Linked DNA regions of Homo sapiens: regions 1, 2 and 4 are each linked to region 3. Evidence: promoter capture Hi-C in human tissues and cell types (Jung and others, 2019). All regions are on one chromosome and are shown on one strand. The core of a region is centred on a gene start or on the middle of the fragment in contact, and the rest is flanking DNA. Distances in the headings are between cores, read along the strand shown.

Evidence for each region. The method cuts DNA at HindIII sites, captures the fragments that hold promoters and counts their contacts. A contact is called where the count stands out against the background at its distance.
Region 1: a contact is called between a fragment that was not itself captured here and the fragment with the promoter of TSPAN33 in region 3, in 1 of the 25 tissues and cell types used here (lymphoblastoid cells).
Region 2: a fragment that was not itself captured here is called in contact with the fragment with the promoter of TSPAN33 in region 3 in 1 of the 25 tissues and cell types used here (mesenchymal stem cells).
Region 4: a contact is called between a fragment that was not itself captured here and the fragment with the promoter of TSPAN33 in region 3, in 2 of the 25 tissues and cell types used here (bladder and lymphoblastoid cells).

What each region holds. Positions count from the first base shown.
Region 1 is chr7:129,011,637-129,015,810 of GRCh38, reverse strand. TNPO3 (transportin 3) reads left to right here. Exons shown (of 23, transcript NM_012470.4): 4 at 676-832. Among named protein-coding and RNA genes, the nearest start is that of TNPO3, 41 kb to the left of the region's middle. The HindIII fragment of the contact is 4,735 bases long and covers 86-4,174 here.
Region 2 is chr7:129,285,389-129,289,961 of GRCh38, reverse strand. All of the region lies in intron 1 of AHCYL2 (adenosylhomocysteinase like 2), which reads right to left. Among named protein-coding and RNA genes, the nearest start is that of AHCYL2, 63 kb to the right of the region's middle. The HindIII fragment of the contact is 6,345 bases long and covers 1-4,475 here.
Region 3 is chr7:129,143,457-129,148,012 of GRCh38, reverse strand. It overlaps TSPAN33 (tetraspanin 33), which reads right to left and starts at 3,306. Exons shown (of 8, transcript NM_178562.5): 1 at 2,931-3,306. The coding sequence starts at 3,032. RefSeq lists an enhancer at 272-321 and a silencer at 3,184-3,393. The HindIII fragment of the contact is 23,252 bases long and covers 1-4,556 here.
Region 4 is chr7:128,973,998-128,978,194 of GRCh38, reverse strand. It overlaps TNPO3 (transportin 3), which reads left to right. Exons shown (of 23, transcript NM_012470.4): 17 at 2,260-2,376; 18 at 3,233-3,327. Among named protein-coding and RNA genes, the nearest start is that of IRF5, 38 kb to the right of the region's middle. The HindIII fragment of the contact is 5,983 bases long and covers 1-4,197 here.

The sequences.
Region 1 (4,174 bases), core at 1,204-3,703, 130 kb after region 3:
CCCAGGCTGAAGTGCAGTGGTGTGATCATGGTTCACTGGAACCTGCAACTCTTGGGCTCATGAGATCCTTCTGCCTCAGTCTCCCGAGTAGCTGGGATTACAGATGCATACCACCATGCCTGGCTGATTAAAAAATTTTGAATGTAGAAACGGTCTCCCTGTGATGCCCAGGCTGGTCTCGAACTTGTGGACTCGTGATCCTCCTGCCTTGGCCTCCCAAAGTGCTGGGATCATAAGCATGAGCCACCACAACTGGCCCTTAACCCTGTATTTTATAAGCAACCACTATTAACAATTGGCTATGTAGAGTTTCCTTTATGCATTTTAAAATAAATAAGTGCATATATATTTTAATGTACATATACCTATATATTTGTTCACCCATATTCAATATGTTTCATACATGTTTTTCACTTACTACATTATGGACTTTTTTTCATGTTAGGACATATAGATATCATGTTCATTATAATGGCTATGTTTCATTGAATAACTGTGTCCTTTTTTTAATCTTAACTAATTATGGAGGACATTTATGTTTGTATCTTTTTTCTCCCCCTTAACAGTGGTGGGAATGTTGCTTTTGTTGTTGTGAGTTACTCTGATGGCTGTTATCTTATGTGATTGTGTATTTTCTGGCTATAAATAACATATCTCCACTTTTTTCTTTTGCAGATACAGCAATGATGTGACTTCTTTGCCTTTTTTGCTGGAGATCCTTACAGTGTTACCTGAAGAAGTACATAGTCGTTCCTTACGAATTGGAGCTAATCGGCGCACAGAAATTATAGAAGATTTGGCCTTCTACTCTAGTACAGTAGTATCTCTATTGGTGAGTAAGTTTGAAATACTAAGTTGCTGCATAAAGGCAGAAAGCCATGGCGGTTATTTTGTAATCAATTGCATTATTGTGAAATAGCTTTCTTTGCAAAATTTAATGATGATGCTTTGGTATTTATGTAACACCTTACCATGACAACATACTTTCAGAAACTATGCTTTTTAAGTTTCTGTATAATCCTCTAAAGGTGACGTTATCTCTTTTATGAATGAAAAATGGACTTTAGAGTTACACAACTGTTAATTCAGAATTGGAACTAAGGCCATCTCATTATTTATCTTGTGCTCTTCTACTGCTTAATGCTCCAAACTGTTGGCTGTTAATAAAGGATCATGCAAAGGGAAGTGTGTATAAATCTACTTTACTAAGAAAGGATCCTTTCTTTTTTTTTCTAATTGATACATGATAGTTGTACATATTTATGGGGTTACATGTATTACTTTTATTTTTTGAAGCAGGGTCTCTGTCTCCTAGGCTGTAGTGCAGTGGCATGATCTCAGCTTACTGCACCCTCCTCCTCCTGGGCTCAAGTGATCCTCTCACCTCAGCCTCCTGAGTAGCTGGGACTACAGGTGTGCGCCACCATGCCCAGCTAAATTTTTTATTTTTTGTAGAGATGGTGTCTCTCCATGTTGCCTAGGCTGGCCTCGAACTCCTGACCTCAAGTGATCCACCTGCCTTGGCCTCCCGAAGTGCTGGGATTACAGGCGTGAGCCACTGTGCCCAGTGACATGTATTATTTTTGTCCAAGTATGTAATATGTGATGATCAGATCAAATCAGGTGATGATCAAATTGAGATATCCATCACCTCAAACCTTTATCATTTCTTTGTGTAGGGAACATTCTAAATCTTCTCTTTCAGCTATTTTGAAGTACTCAATAAATTATTAACTATAGTCACTCTGTTTTGCTGTGTAACACTATAACGTATCCTTTCTATTCAGCTGTATTTGTGTACCCGTTAATCAACCTTTCTTGGTCGTCCCCTCCCCGTTACCCTTCCTAGCCTCTGATCACCGTCATTCTACTCTTTACCTCTATGAGATCCATTTTTTTTCACTCCAACATAGCAGTGAAAGCATGTGATATTTGTCTTTCTGTGCCTGGCTTACTTCACTTAACATAATGTCTAACAGTGCCGTCCATGTTGCTGCAAATGACAGGAGATTTTATTCTTTTTGTGGCTAACGAATATTTCATTGTGCACCTATACCATTGTTTCTTTATCCATTCAGCCGTTGATAGGTACTTAGGTTGATTCCATATCTTGGCTATTGTGAATAGTGCTGCAATAAACATGGGATTGTAGAGATCTTCTTGATATACTGGTTTCTTTTCTGGGTATTTACCCAGCAGTGGGATTGCTAGATCGTATGGTAGTACTATTTTCAGTCTGTTGAGAAACTTCCGTACTGTTTTTCATAATGACTGTACTGCTTTACATTCCAGAGCGTTCCCTTTTCTCTGCATCCTTGCCAGCATTTGCTATTGATCTTTTGCCCATTTTTTAATTTTTAATTTTTTTTTTTTTTTGCTATTATTTGGGTTTCTTATATATTGTGGTTACTAATCTCTTGTTGGATGGGTAGTTTGCAAATATTTCCTCCCATTCTGTAGGTTGTCTCTTTACTTGGTTGATTGTTTCTTTTGCTGTGCAGAAGCCTTTTAGCTTGACCTTTGTCGACTTTTTTTGCTTTAGTTGCCTTTGATTTTGAGGTCTTACTTAAGAGATCTTTGCCCAGATCAATGTCCTGCAGCATTTCCCTAATGTTTGCTTGTAGTAGTTTTATAGTTCACATCTTACATTTAAGTCTTTAATCCATTTTGATTTGATTTTTGTATATTATGAGAGATAAAAGAAAGGATTGTCTCTTAAAGATGAACTGAAAGGTGATAGAAGATTTTACTTGACCTTTGAGGAGTATCGCATTATGGATGAGCTAATACACATTTTTTAAAAAATTAGATGTGATTAAGCTCCTTTCAGTTAGTTGACATTTTTAATACTCTAGAGCAGGAGTGTGTAAATCTATAGTTTATGGGTTGGCTGCCTCTTTTTGTAAATAAAGCTTTGTTGGAACACAGTTATGCCCATTTGGTTATATTTTGTCCATTATTTTGGTCTACATCAGCATAATTGAGTATTTTTCAGAGACCATATGGCTTGCAAAGTGTAGACGGTTTATCTGGTTCTTTATAGAAAATGTTTACTGGTTCCTAAAGTAGATGCTAATAAATTGATTAGCCCATATCTCATTTTTAAGTCTTTATAGTCCAGCTTAATTTTCTCAATAATGTGGATACAGGTTGAATATCCCTTACTGAAAGGCTTGGGACCAGAAGGGTTTAGGGTAGGGTAAAAAAAGTAGTATTTAGGATTTCTGAGTTTTTAAAATTTTGGAATATTTGCATTATACTTTGTGGTTCAGCATTCCTAATCTGAAATGCTCCAGTGAGCATTCCCTTTGAGCGTTATGTTGGCACTCAAAAAGTTTTGGATTTTGGAGCATTTTGGAGTTTTGGATTAGGGATACTTAACCTGTAGTAAATTATTTTTCAGAGATGTGTTTCAGTATAGCAAGTTCATAGATCTTTTAGTTTGAAAAAAAATTAAAATTCTATTAAAAATTGTGTTCAGTTTTGTATTAGAAATTCATTGGAGGGCTGGGTGCAGTGGCTCACCCCTGTAATCCCAGCACTTTGGGAGGCTGAGGCGGGTGGATTACTTGAGGTCAGGAGTTTGAGACCAGCCTGGCCAACATAGTGAAACCCTGTCTGTACTAAAAATACAAAAATTAGCCAGGTATGGTGGTGCACTCCTGTAGTCCCAGCTAGTCGGGAGGCTGAGGCAGGAGAATCTCTTGAACCTGGGAGGCGGAGGTTGCAGTGAGCCAAGATTGCACCACTGCACTCCAGTCTGGGCAACAGAGGGAGACTCCATCTCAAAAAAAAAAAAAAAAAAAAGAAAGAAAAAGAAAAAAGAAATTCATTGAAAAATAATTCTTTTAAGTTAAATATATGTTTTTCACTTAGCCATTTATTTTAAAGAAATAGTTTTATGGAAAATTAGAAAATATGTACAGCAAATTTCACTCAAACCATCTGGAGATCATACAGTTAACCCTTTAATACATATCCTCTATGAACATATTTATGGATATATATACAGATTTTTTAAGCCCAAATGAAGTTATACTTTACTTATTCTTCTGCATCTTGCTTTTTCAGTCATCTGCTTACCTTTTCAAGTTAGTAAGTTTTCATATCATCTGATAAACCCAGACCATATTCACATTTCACCAGTTGGTCCTAAGATATTCTTTACAGGCTG
Region 2 (4,573 bases), core at 54-2,553, 140 kb before region 3:
AAAAATACAAAATTAGTTGGGCGAGGTGGTGCATGGCTGTAATCCCAGCTACTCAGGAGACTGAGGCAGGAGAATCACTTGAACCCTAGAGGCGGAGGTTGCAGTTAGCTGAGATTGCACCACTGCACTCCAGCCTGGGCAACAGAGCAAGACTCCGTCTCAAAAAAAAAAAGAAAGAAAGAAGAAATATATCAGTAAAATCACTAGAAAAGGAAAAAAATGCAATGAATTGAAACATATTCAAAAATGTTTAAACCCAAGAGTTTATGATACCAAAAAAACCCCCACCAAAACCAATGCCTAATTGGAGAATGCTAGTGAACCAATACAGTATTCTGAAAATTGGTAAACAAGGGGAAAGAACAAAATATTCATCCTGACTTTCCAATATGTATTATACCACTGGGTAAATCGAAGATTAGAAAAGGGGAGGTTTCTCTTTATAGAAGTATTCCAGCTAATAAATGAAAGAATAATAGAACTAGAATATCATCATTGTATAGCTCTTAATGATTTAATGGATCTAAGTAAAAATCATCAATAGTTACTAACATCACACAAAAAGAGACAGGTTGGACGAGGTGGCTTGCGCCCGCAATCTCAACACTCGGAGAGGCCAAGGCAAGAGGACTGCTTGAACCCAGGAGTTCAAGACGAGCCTAGGCAACATAGTGAGATCCCATCTCTACAAAAAAAATTTAAAAATTAGCTAGGCATTGTGGCACACACCTGTGCTCCTAGCTATTAGGCAGGCTGAGGCAGGAGGATCACTTGAGCCCAGGAGGTTGAGGCTGCAGTGAGCTGTAATTGTGCCACTGCACTCCAGCCTGGGTGACACAGCAAGACCCTGACTCAAAAAAGTAAAATAAAAATTAAAATAGGCCCGTTGTGGTGGCTTATACCTGTAATCCCAGCACTTTGGAAGACGAAGGCTGGCAGATGGCTTGAGCCCAGGAGTTCAGGACCAGCCTGGGCAACACGGTAAAACTCTATCTCTACAAAATAAACAAACAAACAAACAAAAATTAGCCAGGCGTGGTGGTGCATGCCTGCAGTCGCAGCTACTCAGGAAGCTGAGGTGGGAAGATCAATTGAGCCCAGGAGGTTGAAGCTGCAGTGAGCTATGATCATGCTACTGCACCTCCAGCCTGGGTGACAGAACAAGGCCTTGTCTCAAAAATAATAATAATAAATAGATAAAATTTTAAAACAAAAAAGACATGCAGACATTTATGTACCTTCTGATGGAAGTACTTAACACCACTCATGAAGAAGTCTGAGCACTCTTCTAAATAGAAGTACTGCCAGGCGCAGTGGCTCACGCCTGTAATCCCAGCACTTTGGGAGGCTGAGGCAGGCAGATCACTTGAGGTCAGGAGTTCGAGACCAGCCTGGCCAATATGATGAGACCCTGTCTCTACTAAAAACACAAGAATTAGCCAGGCGTGGTGGCGGGCCTCTGTAATCCCAGCTATTCAGGAGGCTGAGGAGGAGAATCGCTTGAACCCAGAAGGTGGAGGGTGCAGTGAGCCGAGATCACGCCACTGCACTCCAGCCTGAGTGATGCGAGACTCTGTCTCAATAAAATAAAATAAAATTAAATTAAAATAAATACAAATACAAATTTACAGGAGTTGCAGAAGACAAAGGAACACGTTAAAAGACACCACAGAGATGTAATCAGCAAAATTCAGACTCAGGGAAATTCTGCCAACACAAATGACTTGATTTCTACAACAAAAAACTGCAAAACAAAAAGCAGGGGAGAAGAGAGGACTAATGTTAAGAGACAAATCAATAAACTGCACTATATGATACTCATTTGTATCCTGATTCAAACATACTGAAAAAATATACATTTATGAATAACACAATGAGGGAAATGTGAACATTGGGTTTTTATGCTATTAAAAATTATTGCTAATTTTTTAGCATGATAATGGAATTGAAGTTATTTAAGGTCTTTATCTTTAGAGATATAGTGATATGTTTACAGGTGAAGCTATAAAATTCTTCAATTTGCATCCAATAATCCAGGGAGTGGATGGTGTGGACAGGGCTATATGTGAAACAAGTGGCCATGAATTCACAATTGTTGAAGGTGAGTAATGGAGTACATGATCGACATTTTCCATTATAAAAAACATTCAAAAGAAACAGTAAACATCAAAATGACGTGGGGAGAAGGAGCTCTACATAAAGAACTTAGCCTGTGTATCACAAGTACTAATTATAATCACTAAAAAGCTTAAGGGTTGGATTAGATGACCTCTCAGCATCTGACTTTCAAATCCAATAGTCTAAAATTCGATGACCAGATTATCTTTAAAGGTCATTTTTAATCTCTAAAATTCCTTGGTTTTTCTTTCCCAGAGAGCTGCCTTAACTTTCCTCTCCCACTGGTTAGCAATAGCCTACAAAAACACTGAACAACAACTACTTTTAAAAAGCACATTAAACTGAGACTTACTCCCGGTACAGTGCTTGGAGTTTTCAGCTATACCACCCACTTCAATTCTGGAGTCTGGATGTTATACTGCTTAATTAGGCTAAACAGCCAGTACTGATTAAACACAAGGAAAAATCTGCTGTAGAAGTAATGGTGATAACTCTTGTGTTTCTCTTTTCTCACACATAAACAGTTTGGGAACAGTGGTCTCAAAATATGGTCCAGAAACTACTTGAGGTATCCCTGGAGGGGGTGCTTGAGGTTAAAAGTATTTTCATGATAACCCTAAGATTATATTTGTTCTTTTTACTCTTATTATTTTATAAGTGTACAGTGGAGTTTTCCAGAGGATACAAGATGTGTGGCAACACATCAGATAAGGCAAAAGCAGATACGAGAATCCAACAGTTTTTTATGAATTTGGCCATCAAAGAGATGGCAGGAATATAAAACAATGCTTTTCTTCCCATTAAATGTCTTTGTTTTAGAAAATGTAGTTACTTTTCATGAAAATATTATTTATGTTAACATATAGTGGGATTATTATTTTCAATTTATTAATATTTAAATATTATTAAATGTCTCCATTTAAAATAAATAACACATGGCGGGTTTATAGCTATTTTAAATCAATCAATCAATCAATATTTTTAAATTATCAGGTTTAATTCCTAACATTGTAAGTATTGATATAGATATAACCCACAGAGACAAAAACTCTTTGGGATCCTTAATTTTTAAGAGTGTAAAGGAGCTGGAAGTGGTGGCTCACCCCTGTAATCCCAGCACTCTGGGAGGCCAAGGCAGGTGGATCACTTGAGGTCAGGAGTTGGAGACCAGGCTGGCCAACATGGTGAAACCCATCTCTACTAAAAATACAAACAATTAGCCAGGCACACTGGCATGTGCCTGTGGTCCCAGCTACTCGGGAGGCTGAGGCAGGAGGATCACTTGAGCCCAGGAGGTGGAGGTTGTAGTGAGCTAAGCGCATGCCACTGCACTCCAGCCTGGGTGATGAGAGTGAAACCCTGTCTCAAAACAAAACAAAACAAACAAACAAACAAAAAAACTAACTCCCCTCCTCTCATATTTATATTTGTCTTTGAAAACCAGGTAAAGGTAAAAAAGCAAAAGGCCAAGGCAAGTCTCATGGAGAGAAGCTTGAAACCGGGAGGCAGAGGTTGCAGTGAGCTGAGATTGCGCCACTGCACTCCAGCCTGGGCAACAGAGCAAGACTCCATCTCACACAAAAAAATAAAAAATAAAGAGTGTAAAGGGCCCCGAGACAAAAAAGTTTGAGAACTACTGCTCTAAAACACCTATAATTCTAATTAATGCTCACATTACCATTTCATTTTATATTGTGTAGCCTCAATTCTTTCATTTTCACCCTCCAAAGAAAGACACTGTGACCTAAAACTAGTTGGTTTGATATAACTAAAATTTCTTTTTGGTGGAGGTTGGGGGTAGGAAGGTGGCCCTGGTTTAAATAGAGGATTTAGGCCAGGCATGGTGGTTCATGCCCCTAATCCCAGCACTTAGGGAGGCCAAGGTGGGCAGATTACTTGAGTTCAGGAATTTGAGACCAGCTTGGGCAACAAAGAGAGACCCCTGCCTCTACACAAAATACAAAAATTAGCTGGGTGGGGTGGCACACACCTATAGTCCCAGCTACTCAAGAGACCAAGGTGGGAGGATTGCTTGAGCCTGGGAGGTGAAGGTTGCAGTTAGCAAGGTGGAGGTTGAGATCGTGCCACTGCACTGCAACCTGGGTGACAGAGCCAGACCCTATCTCAAAAAAAAAAAAAAAAAAAAAGAGAGAGAGAGAAAGAAAATAGAGGATTACTGCTCAGAACTCTAAAAAGGACATGAAGAACTTTAATCACATGGATTCTACAAGGTCAGGAAGAACATTTCCCTCTGGGGAAAGATTGGCAGTAAGTTCAACCTAAGTTCCTTTTTTTGTACCTTTTTTTCTTTTCCAACTTGCCAAAACTGAAATTTAGACTCCTCAATCCTGGTTCCCTGACACCATGGGAAGACTGGCAAAACAATCCTTCCTGGTCTGGGTAGGAGAAGCTGGTCATCTCAGGACACAAAGAGCTGTTCATTTCCTTGCCTGAT
Region 3 (4,556 bases), core at 2,057-4,556:
AGAGCAGCTACTCCAGGCCATGGAATCCCCACAGTCAGTAACCCAGCAACATGATTCTGGGAAGAAAATCAGAACTCCCAGGTCAAAGGGGAAGTGAGATTTGAAACATGAACAGTAGGAACTGGTCCCAGTCCCCCAAAATTCATTAGTTTTCTGAGTCAGACTCCAAATGCCCCAAGAGTCAGGGCTTCTAGAGCAACAGCAGACGTAGCCACCATCACCACCAGCACCACTATTCAGAGCCCAGAGGATGCCGGACACCTTCCTAGTGGGTTCCAGGCACAGACACAATAACCACTGCCATGCGGCAGCTCCAGAAGCCGGCCAGAGCATGCACTCTGCCTGCAAAGGGTGTGGGCTGACCATCATCTCATCCATAGGTGCTTCCTGGGCAGAAGAGCAGAATTTGATTAGGATGGTGGAAGTCTACAAAAAAGAAAGCATGGGAACCAGTCCCTGAAGAGGAGCTAGGAAGAAAGATGGCCCCCTGATCTGGGGAGGCAGCATTTTCTCTCCAGCTGCTCTTGTATGAATATACCTGTGCAGCACTGGGTTTGGGGGAGAAGGGACATTCAATAACACCTGAAAAGTACTGTCCCCTAGGAAGGGCAATCAGGACACAGGGAGATTCATCCTTAGATCCAGCTCTAGGTCTTGAAGAAAGAAAACAGTCCCCAAAATGATTCATTCATCCTTAAATAGTTCACTGAGGCAGAAATTGTTTCTCCTTTAGAGGAGAAAGATTAAGGTCAGAGAGACAGATACATTGGCTTAGGGTCACACAGTAAGTTGGTGCCAAAAAGATGCTGAGCCTCTTGTCTTTCAGTGTGCTATTTCTAGAGCCTCTGATTTTTTATGAGTCTACTGTAGGGCCAAGAAGGGGCTCTATTCTAATTTGGGGTGGTGCTAGCTTGGCCACCCACGTCTTCTGACCTTGAATGAAGCATTTTTACCAAGGTAAATGGGTCTGTGGAGCCAAACTCTCTCCTGGCTGAGATCTCTCAAAGTCGTTTGTCCGATAAAAGGGGGGTAGGGTGGAGGTAGGGGGTAGGGAAGCTCGAGAAAAAAAAAATGACCAGGAACACAAGTGTAACAGATGCACCCAGCTGTTGTCACTGGCGAGCACAGACAAGGGTGAGGTACCAATGGCTCCAAGGGAGACAGTCTCGGCAGATAAAGGAAGTCAGAGTGACGACCTAAAGTCCCTGAAATGCTAGTGCTGGCTCCGAGGATGTCACGTCACTGGCCTGGCACACTCAGTGAGCACAGAGACTTCACTGATACTTGCCCCTAAGTGGGGAGTCTCTTAGTACATCCCCCAGCACTGGTAGAGTGGTAAGGGATTTTCTTGTGTTTTTCCCTAACCTCCAGCTGAAGCAGAACCTAGACTATGGGAACTTGGGTTGACTGGTTAACTACTAATACTGCCCATACCCCAGCTATAGCAGCAGCCATCTGTGCTGAGGACTTCCCCCAGCGGCACTGTGGTTCAGTAGAAAGGTCACCAGACCAAGCCTGCTAACCAGCTGTTGGACCTTGGACAAAACATTTAACATCTCTGTGCTTTAGTTTTCTACATTTTATAGACATAAACACAGATGCTGGACAAGATGTCTTCTAAAATTTTTTTCCAGTTTTACAACTGAGCATTTGATAGGAGCACAAGTTTCATTTTCCCCAGGAGTAGGATGGCTGAGTGCGCTGTCATCACCACCCTATGGGATTTCTCTCATTTGTCCCAACAGGCCAGCACTTATGGGCTTTGTGTCTGCACCTCACCCCACGGGCCCTGTGAAACCTTTCCAGCAAATGGCTTAGATGTCTGTTCTGCTCCCTCCCCTAGGAAACATATTTTAGACTCAATTCTTCCCTCCTGCAAGTCTGAACTTTAGGTCTCCAGCTGAAGTGGGCAAGGATGGTGGGCTCCAGAAGCAGCAGCTCTGGTGTGGTAGGAGCCAGAAGAGGAGGTGAATGGGGGAAGGATGTCCCTATGTTCTCACACCCCAGGACCTCCAGGACTCTCTAGCCAGGAAACAGGGTCGAGCTGGCATTGCATGATCTGGTTCAGCTCAATTCTCAGCTTCAGCAGTCTTTCTGCCACCCCTGATCACACTGGGTTGGATTTGTGGGGGAGGGAGTCAAGGCCTGCAGACATGAACATACATGCTTAGGTCGGTCAAGTCAACAATGAACGGCAGAGTGGGATGGGAATCCAGGTGTCCGGAGTCCCAGCCCAATACTTTTTCCACCCCAAGCAGAAGATTCTGAAAGGACCCCTGGCCCTCCGGCCCAACACGGGGTCCTGTTTAAAGACACTGGTGATTGCCAGGCTCCAGGGGTGAAGTCTGGTCCTGAGAAGGGTGGCAGGGAGGGGACAAAGTTTGGGGCAGTGCTGGGATGGGAAAGACATCTGCACCTGGAGGCCATTCTTCCTAGACTTTGGGGGGGTGGAGGTGGGGGTAGATGAGGCCTGCAAAAGGAAGAGATGATGCCAGTAACCCATCCTCTCTGAGGTGGTGGAGAGAGAGGTTTGGGTTTTTCCTTCCTCTTCTTTCTTTGCCAGCCGGGCCTCCAGGCCCCCAGGCCTGAAAGTCAGCCGCCACCCCCGACCCCCATCATGAATGTGTCAGTGGGTCCGCCTTGGGCCAACAGGCTCCCTCAAACCCACATTTCTAGCCTAACACAGACCCTCCTCCGACGCCCCGAGAATACCCATCAGTCTTTACTGATTCCCTGGCATACCCTCCTCCCTACAACGCCCCCTGCAGACGCGGCGTCCCCGGGGTGTCCCTCCCCAGGATAAATTCCCCCAAAGTGCCGTCAGCCCAGAAAACTCGGCAGTGCGGCTCCCGCGCGTGGGGCACCCCGGGCCACCCTTCCACCCCGCGGGGGGACCCCGCCGCCCAGGTGCCCTCGACCCCGAGACTCACCCAGAAGAGCATGTTGAAGAAGAAGAGCAGGTATTTCACCAGCGGGCTGACGAAGGAGAACTCCTCCCCGGAGGCGGCCGGCGCCCGGGGTCTCCGCGCCATGGCCCCGCCGCCGCCACCGCCCCCGGGGGCCTATTTCCCAGCGGCTGCCGGCCGGCCTGTGTGCCCCGCGCCCGGGGGCATGAGCCGAGCCGCGCCGCGCAGGAGCCCGGCCGGCGGGGGAGCCTGCGCTGCGGCGGGAGGCGCCCGAGCCGGGGGGCCGGGAGCGGCGCGGGCCGGGGAACCGCGCCTGGAGCTGCTGGAGCCGCGGTGGGCAGCGCGAGCGGACGAGACTCACCCGCGGCCGCAGGACCAGCCCGGCCAGCCAGGCGCCCAGGAAACCCGGCCCGCCCCCGGCCGCTCATTGGCGCGACGGCTGGAGCCCGACTTCCCATTGGCTCGTGGCTGATGTCACTAAGTATCCAGCCATCCCTCTCCACCGAGAGTCGGGGGAGACACCTGTTCTGTGAGGGATAACTTGTTAAAGGGTCAGCGGTTCTGCCTCTCCCCTACCCCTAAGGGAAAGCATCCAGGCTGCAGCTGCTCAAAGGAACAAGAGTGAGGAGAAGGAATGCACAGTGCATCCCACACCCACGTCCTCCGCCCAGCTGCTGTGCACATATGCAAACACACATACATTAAAATCAACAAGTACGCACACCGTGTGTTGAGCAATGCGCCGAAAGCTCTGGGAACGCGGGAGAACAGAAACAATCCCTGGGGGATGACAATAAAATCAGGGAGACAAAACTAACCTACACATAACAATTAGACCAAGGGTAGATGCAATCTTGTTTAGTAACTATACATTTTAAATGCTTATTTCAGAAGCTCTACAACCCAACAGTGGAAATTTGGAAACATCACCGCCAATCCCGCCATCCTAATTCATTGCTGTCTCAATTCCCGCCCCCGCAGCCCCTCTTCCCTTGGTCTACTTGCAGACACCGTTTTTAACATGCTGATCCGGCACACACAGGTTGAGTGCAGCGTAGCTGGCGAATATATTATGCTGGCTACCCTAACTAATACAAGTTGAACCTCGGGGAGGGAATCTGATTCCACCATAATTAGCTGCGTGAAAGCTGCAAGCTACTTAATCTCTCGGAGCCTCAGTTTGTTTAATGTTAAATGGGAGAGTCCTGACCTAGATGGCGATTTGAGGATTAAATGAGATAATGCATGTAGCTCACTTAGCACATGGCTGGCACATGGAAGGCTCATCAAAGGCATTACAGTATTTCGTTTTAGCAGAATTAAGAATCCAGTGTGGAAATATGATAACCGCACAAATAATTATAATACGTTTGGTAGAAGGTTAGTGAAGATAGCGTGGCAAGTGAAATTAGGGGAGGATGGGATTTAGAATAGTAGAGACGGAGGGGAAACATAATCCAGGTGGATTAAAAAAAAAGGGGGTGAACCAAAGCCTGGAGGTGCAAAAGCACGCCATGTGTTTCGTGCAAAATAAGCAGACTGCTGTGGCTGGAGCACAGGGTATGCTTGGAATAGCAGTGGGACATAATGCTGACCGATGCCGTTACATGTGGAATTGTGTTAAAACTGCGGAAGTAATTGAATATCAGA
Region 4 (4,197 bases), core at 76-2,575, 170 kb after region 3:
AGATGCCTATGCTTAAGTCACTAAGTAATTGTGTTGATGTTAACCTTAGAGCAGGGCCAGGATGCCAGTGCCTAGGGCACAAGATTTAGGGACACAAGGCAAAGTGCCAATCCTGCATTTGCAGGACTCTGAGGTGCTTTCTGAAATTTTGTACCCATGCTGTGAGGAAAACAGTCACAGAGCTCCAGGCTAGAGTCATACCCCACCCAACCTGAAGTGACCATGCTCCACCTAGGGAGAGGAGAGCACCTAGGGTGCAGATTTTAAGGAGGTCCTGGCCTTAAGAATGAGTTCCCCCTGGCCAGGTGCAGTGCCTCACGCCTGTAATCCCAGCACTTTGGGAGGCCGAGGTGGGTGGATCACGAGGTCAGGAGTTCAAGACCAGCCTGGCCAAGATGGTGAAACCCCATCTCTACTAAAAATACAAAAAATTAGCCAGGCGCAGTGGCAGGCGCCTGTAGTCCCAGCTATTCATGAGGCTGAGGAAGGAGAATCATTTGAACCCGGAGGGTGGAGGTTGCAGTGAGCTGAGATCGTGCCACTGCACTCCAGCCTGGGTGACAGAGTGAAACTCCATCTCAAAAAAAAAAAAAAAGAAAAAAGAAAAAAAGAATGAGTTCCCCCTTAAATTCTGCATCATAGGTGCCCTCAACCACAGGCACAGGCATGCTGGTGCGGTGTTGGTACTTGGATAACCTTGCCTCTCTAAATTATAGATTTGATTAAAGATTGTACAGGTAAATATTTCAACAGAATTTTAATTTTTAGTGATTTCTCTACTTTCACTATATGCTGAGCACAATAATGTATGTTCGCATTTAGGCGATTGCCACCTCTGGTCAAGTGTCCCCTTCAGTGCAATACATTCTGGGTCTACTACAACTTGATAGACTGCCCCTTTGCTGTTGGAGGATACCCTCATGACTTTGATACTGTTTTTTAATTCCTGCCAGTTAAGTATATGACTAACCCAATAGAGTAGGTAGCACTATTATATAGGAAGTGTGTTCTAGAGTCAGTACATGTGACAAAAATGAAAATTATCCTTAAAAAATCCCTTAACTCAGGAGCCAGCAATTGATAGTCAGTGGCCTTGCCACCTATTTTTGTTTTTGTGTTTTTTTTAATGTTTTACTGAGCTATAGCCATAATTCATTTACGTATTATCTATTGGTCATTTTTGTGCTACACTGGCAAACTTGAGTGGGCAGAAGACTGAATGGTGGATAAGATCTATACTTTTTACAAAGTAGCCCTTTAAGAAAATGTTTGGCAACCCTTGACTTAATCATTCCTTAGTAGAGCATATAATTTTGAGTTTACAACATGGAATGGATTCATAGCTCCCATCTCATGCTCATTCCATGGCATATGCCAACAGAAGAATTAAGTTACTGTATCCTTTCAGTCCCAAGTTCATAGAGTTGAATTTATGTAATAAGATCAATACATATGTACTGTGGTGGCATTTTAAATAGGTGAGTGTACAATTGTTTCTTAATTCTGGGAGGATAGTGGAGTAAAAATTCTAAACAAATCATTTAAGCGCATATCGTGGCCGGGCATGGTGGTGCACACCTATAGTCCCAGCTGCTCGGGAGGCTGAGGTGGGAGGATCCCTTGAGCCTGGTAGGTTGAGGCCACAGTGAGCCAAGATCTCACCACTGCACTCCAGCCTGGGCAACAGAGCGAAACCCAGTCTCTTAAAAAAAAAATAATAATGTGCATATTGTGTTAAAATTTTTGCTGTGTTGAAATCCAAATATCTTCGTAGAAAACACTATTTTTTACTTAAAAGATAAAATAGGTTTAGGAGCAACTCAAAATTTAAACAATGCTTTCACTGTCTTCTCCAAGATGAAGGTGTTTGATACTGTTTTCCCAACTGTGGCTATATATCCTATTTAAAAGTATGACTTATCTACAGTGCAAATGAGAGCAACTTTTACGTACTGGATGAAATATTCTGTGCTGGGGTTTTGCAAATAATCCATGAGTTCCCTGATAGCTTCTAGCTTTAACTCTTATACAGCATTGTCTTGGGAAGATGAAAGGTCAAAGGGTTGGAAGAATAGAGAACCTGAAAATCATTGAGATATTGAGCCCTGTGTTTCACAAAATAGTGCTAAGAAGCTTTATACTATGTTGCCTTAAAGAGAAGAAGCCAATCTATCTCTGAATTTCTTCCTGGAGACAGCTTCGTAAGTTGGTACTTTTTGAAGGACGAAGCATTGAACTAATTGTTTTTTCCCTCAACAGATGGTGAATGTGTACCACGTACATCAGCATTCCTGCTTCCTGTACCTTGGCAGTATCCTTGTGGATGAATATGGCATGGAAGAAGGCTGTCGGCAGGGACTGCTAGACATGCTCCAGGTATCTTTTCCATGAGGAGTGTAGACGCATCAGGCCTAGAGGGTCTGAAGGCCTAGCAGCGTATTCTTTACCATGTCTTTAATTCTGTTGCTTCTTTATGTTTTCCCCCAGGCATGTTGATTTCCTAATAACAGGGAGGTGGAAGCTTCCCAGTTGTTCTCTGAACAGGCCTGTTTGAGAGAATGAGAGACTGACCACATGAGTGTAATGATTATTACATGTTACTGCCTGGTTTATGCTCTTCCAGAGATAGGGTGTTTGGAGGGGGGAGGAGGTGAGAAAAATGAATCTCTAAGCTCAAGCATTATTGTATTTTTAACTTCTTGCCTGGAACAGCCAACTGACTAGTTTACTTAGCAGCAGGGAGGGTTTTAGAATTAATAATAGCATTGGAAACAGCTCCTCAGATACTGCTTTTCCCTCCCTTCCAGCCACAGAGGGGAATATTGAGTTGAAGAATGTTGTTTCTTTTCCCAAGATGTCTTTTCATTTAAAATTGATATTTCATAATTATTATAAAAACTTCCACTCCCTTAGTGGACTATACCTAAATAGAATCTTTGCTTTCAGAAATTTCTAAAACTTTGAGATGACATCTGTTGAGTTTTATCAGCTAAAATCTGTTTTCTCAACCCTTTCTTAAATGTGGACTTCATAGGTGAAAACTGTTTATGTCAACTGGGAAGGATTTATGTGTTTCTTTTCCTGATCAGATTCTCATTACAATCTTTTTCTTTTCCCAGCTGTGCTTTTCTTCTTTGTTCCTTTTGTACTTATTGTAATAAATATTTGGCAAGTCTGAATGCTGTGGCATTTCTGAAAAAGCATTTCTTTTAAAATCACTGTTTTGTTTTAGGCACTGTGCATCCCCACCTTTCAGCTCCTAGAACAGCAGAATGGTCTCCAGAATCACCCTGACACTGTAGATGACCTGTTCCGGCTAGCCACCAGGTAAATCCTTCTGAAGAGCCCATTTCTTAATTGCTCATCCTATCACTGCTTAGTCTTGCCATCTGACCCTTGGTTGTTTTATTCTTGTAAAATGAAGTCACTGGAGTAAGTAGATTAATGATTCATAACCCAAAGGTAAATTGCAAGCTGATATATCCCCAGCAGTGACGCAGAGTATTGCGGGAAGCAAGGGATAAAGGAGCTGAGTTCCTGCCAGGAAGGAGGGCTCACACACAAGACAATGCAGTGTGCCTGGCAAAACACTTGACTAGATCATCTCTACAGTCCTCTGTAGGTTTTAACTGTTCGTGCTGTTGCGATTTCATGTTTCACCTCAACCTTCTCTTTGAGAAGCTTAGCATCCTTTAGATATAATCAGTTTCGGAATAAAGAATGTTTGGGATTTTAAGATGCCTTAGCAGTTATCTCATACTGTATTTCTCAGCTCTACTCACAGCCTACTTTATCAGTAGCACTGATAATATGATTGCCAAACTTCTGCTTGAATTCCTTAGTCCCTAACTAAGGAATTTGAACCAAAACTGTTACCATATCAGCATTAAAAAAAAAAAAAAAAGAAAAATCATTATTTTCGAAACAACAAAAGCCCAACTGTTATATCATTTACAAATGCAAAGTAATGTTGACTTGATTGTTTCATCTTAGGATTGATTTTTTTTCTTTTTTCTTTTTTGAGATGGACTCTCACTCTGTTGCCCAGGCTGGAGTGCAATGGCATGATCTCGGCTCACTGCAACCTCTGCCTCCTGGGTTCAAGTGATTCTCCTACCTCAGCCTCCCGAGTAGTTGGGATTACAGGTGCCCACCACCATGCCCAGCTAATTTTTGTATTTTTAGTAGAGACGGGGT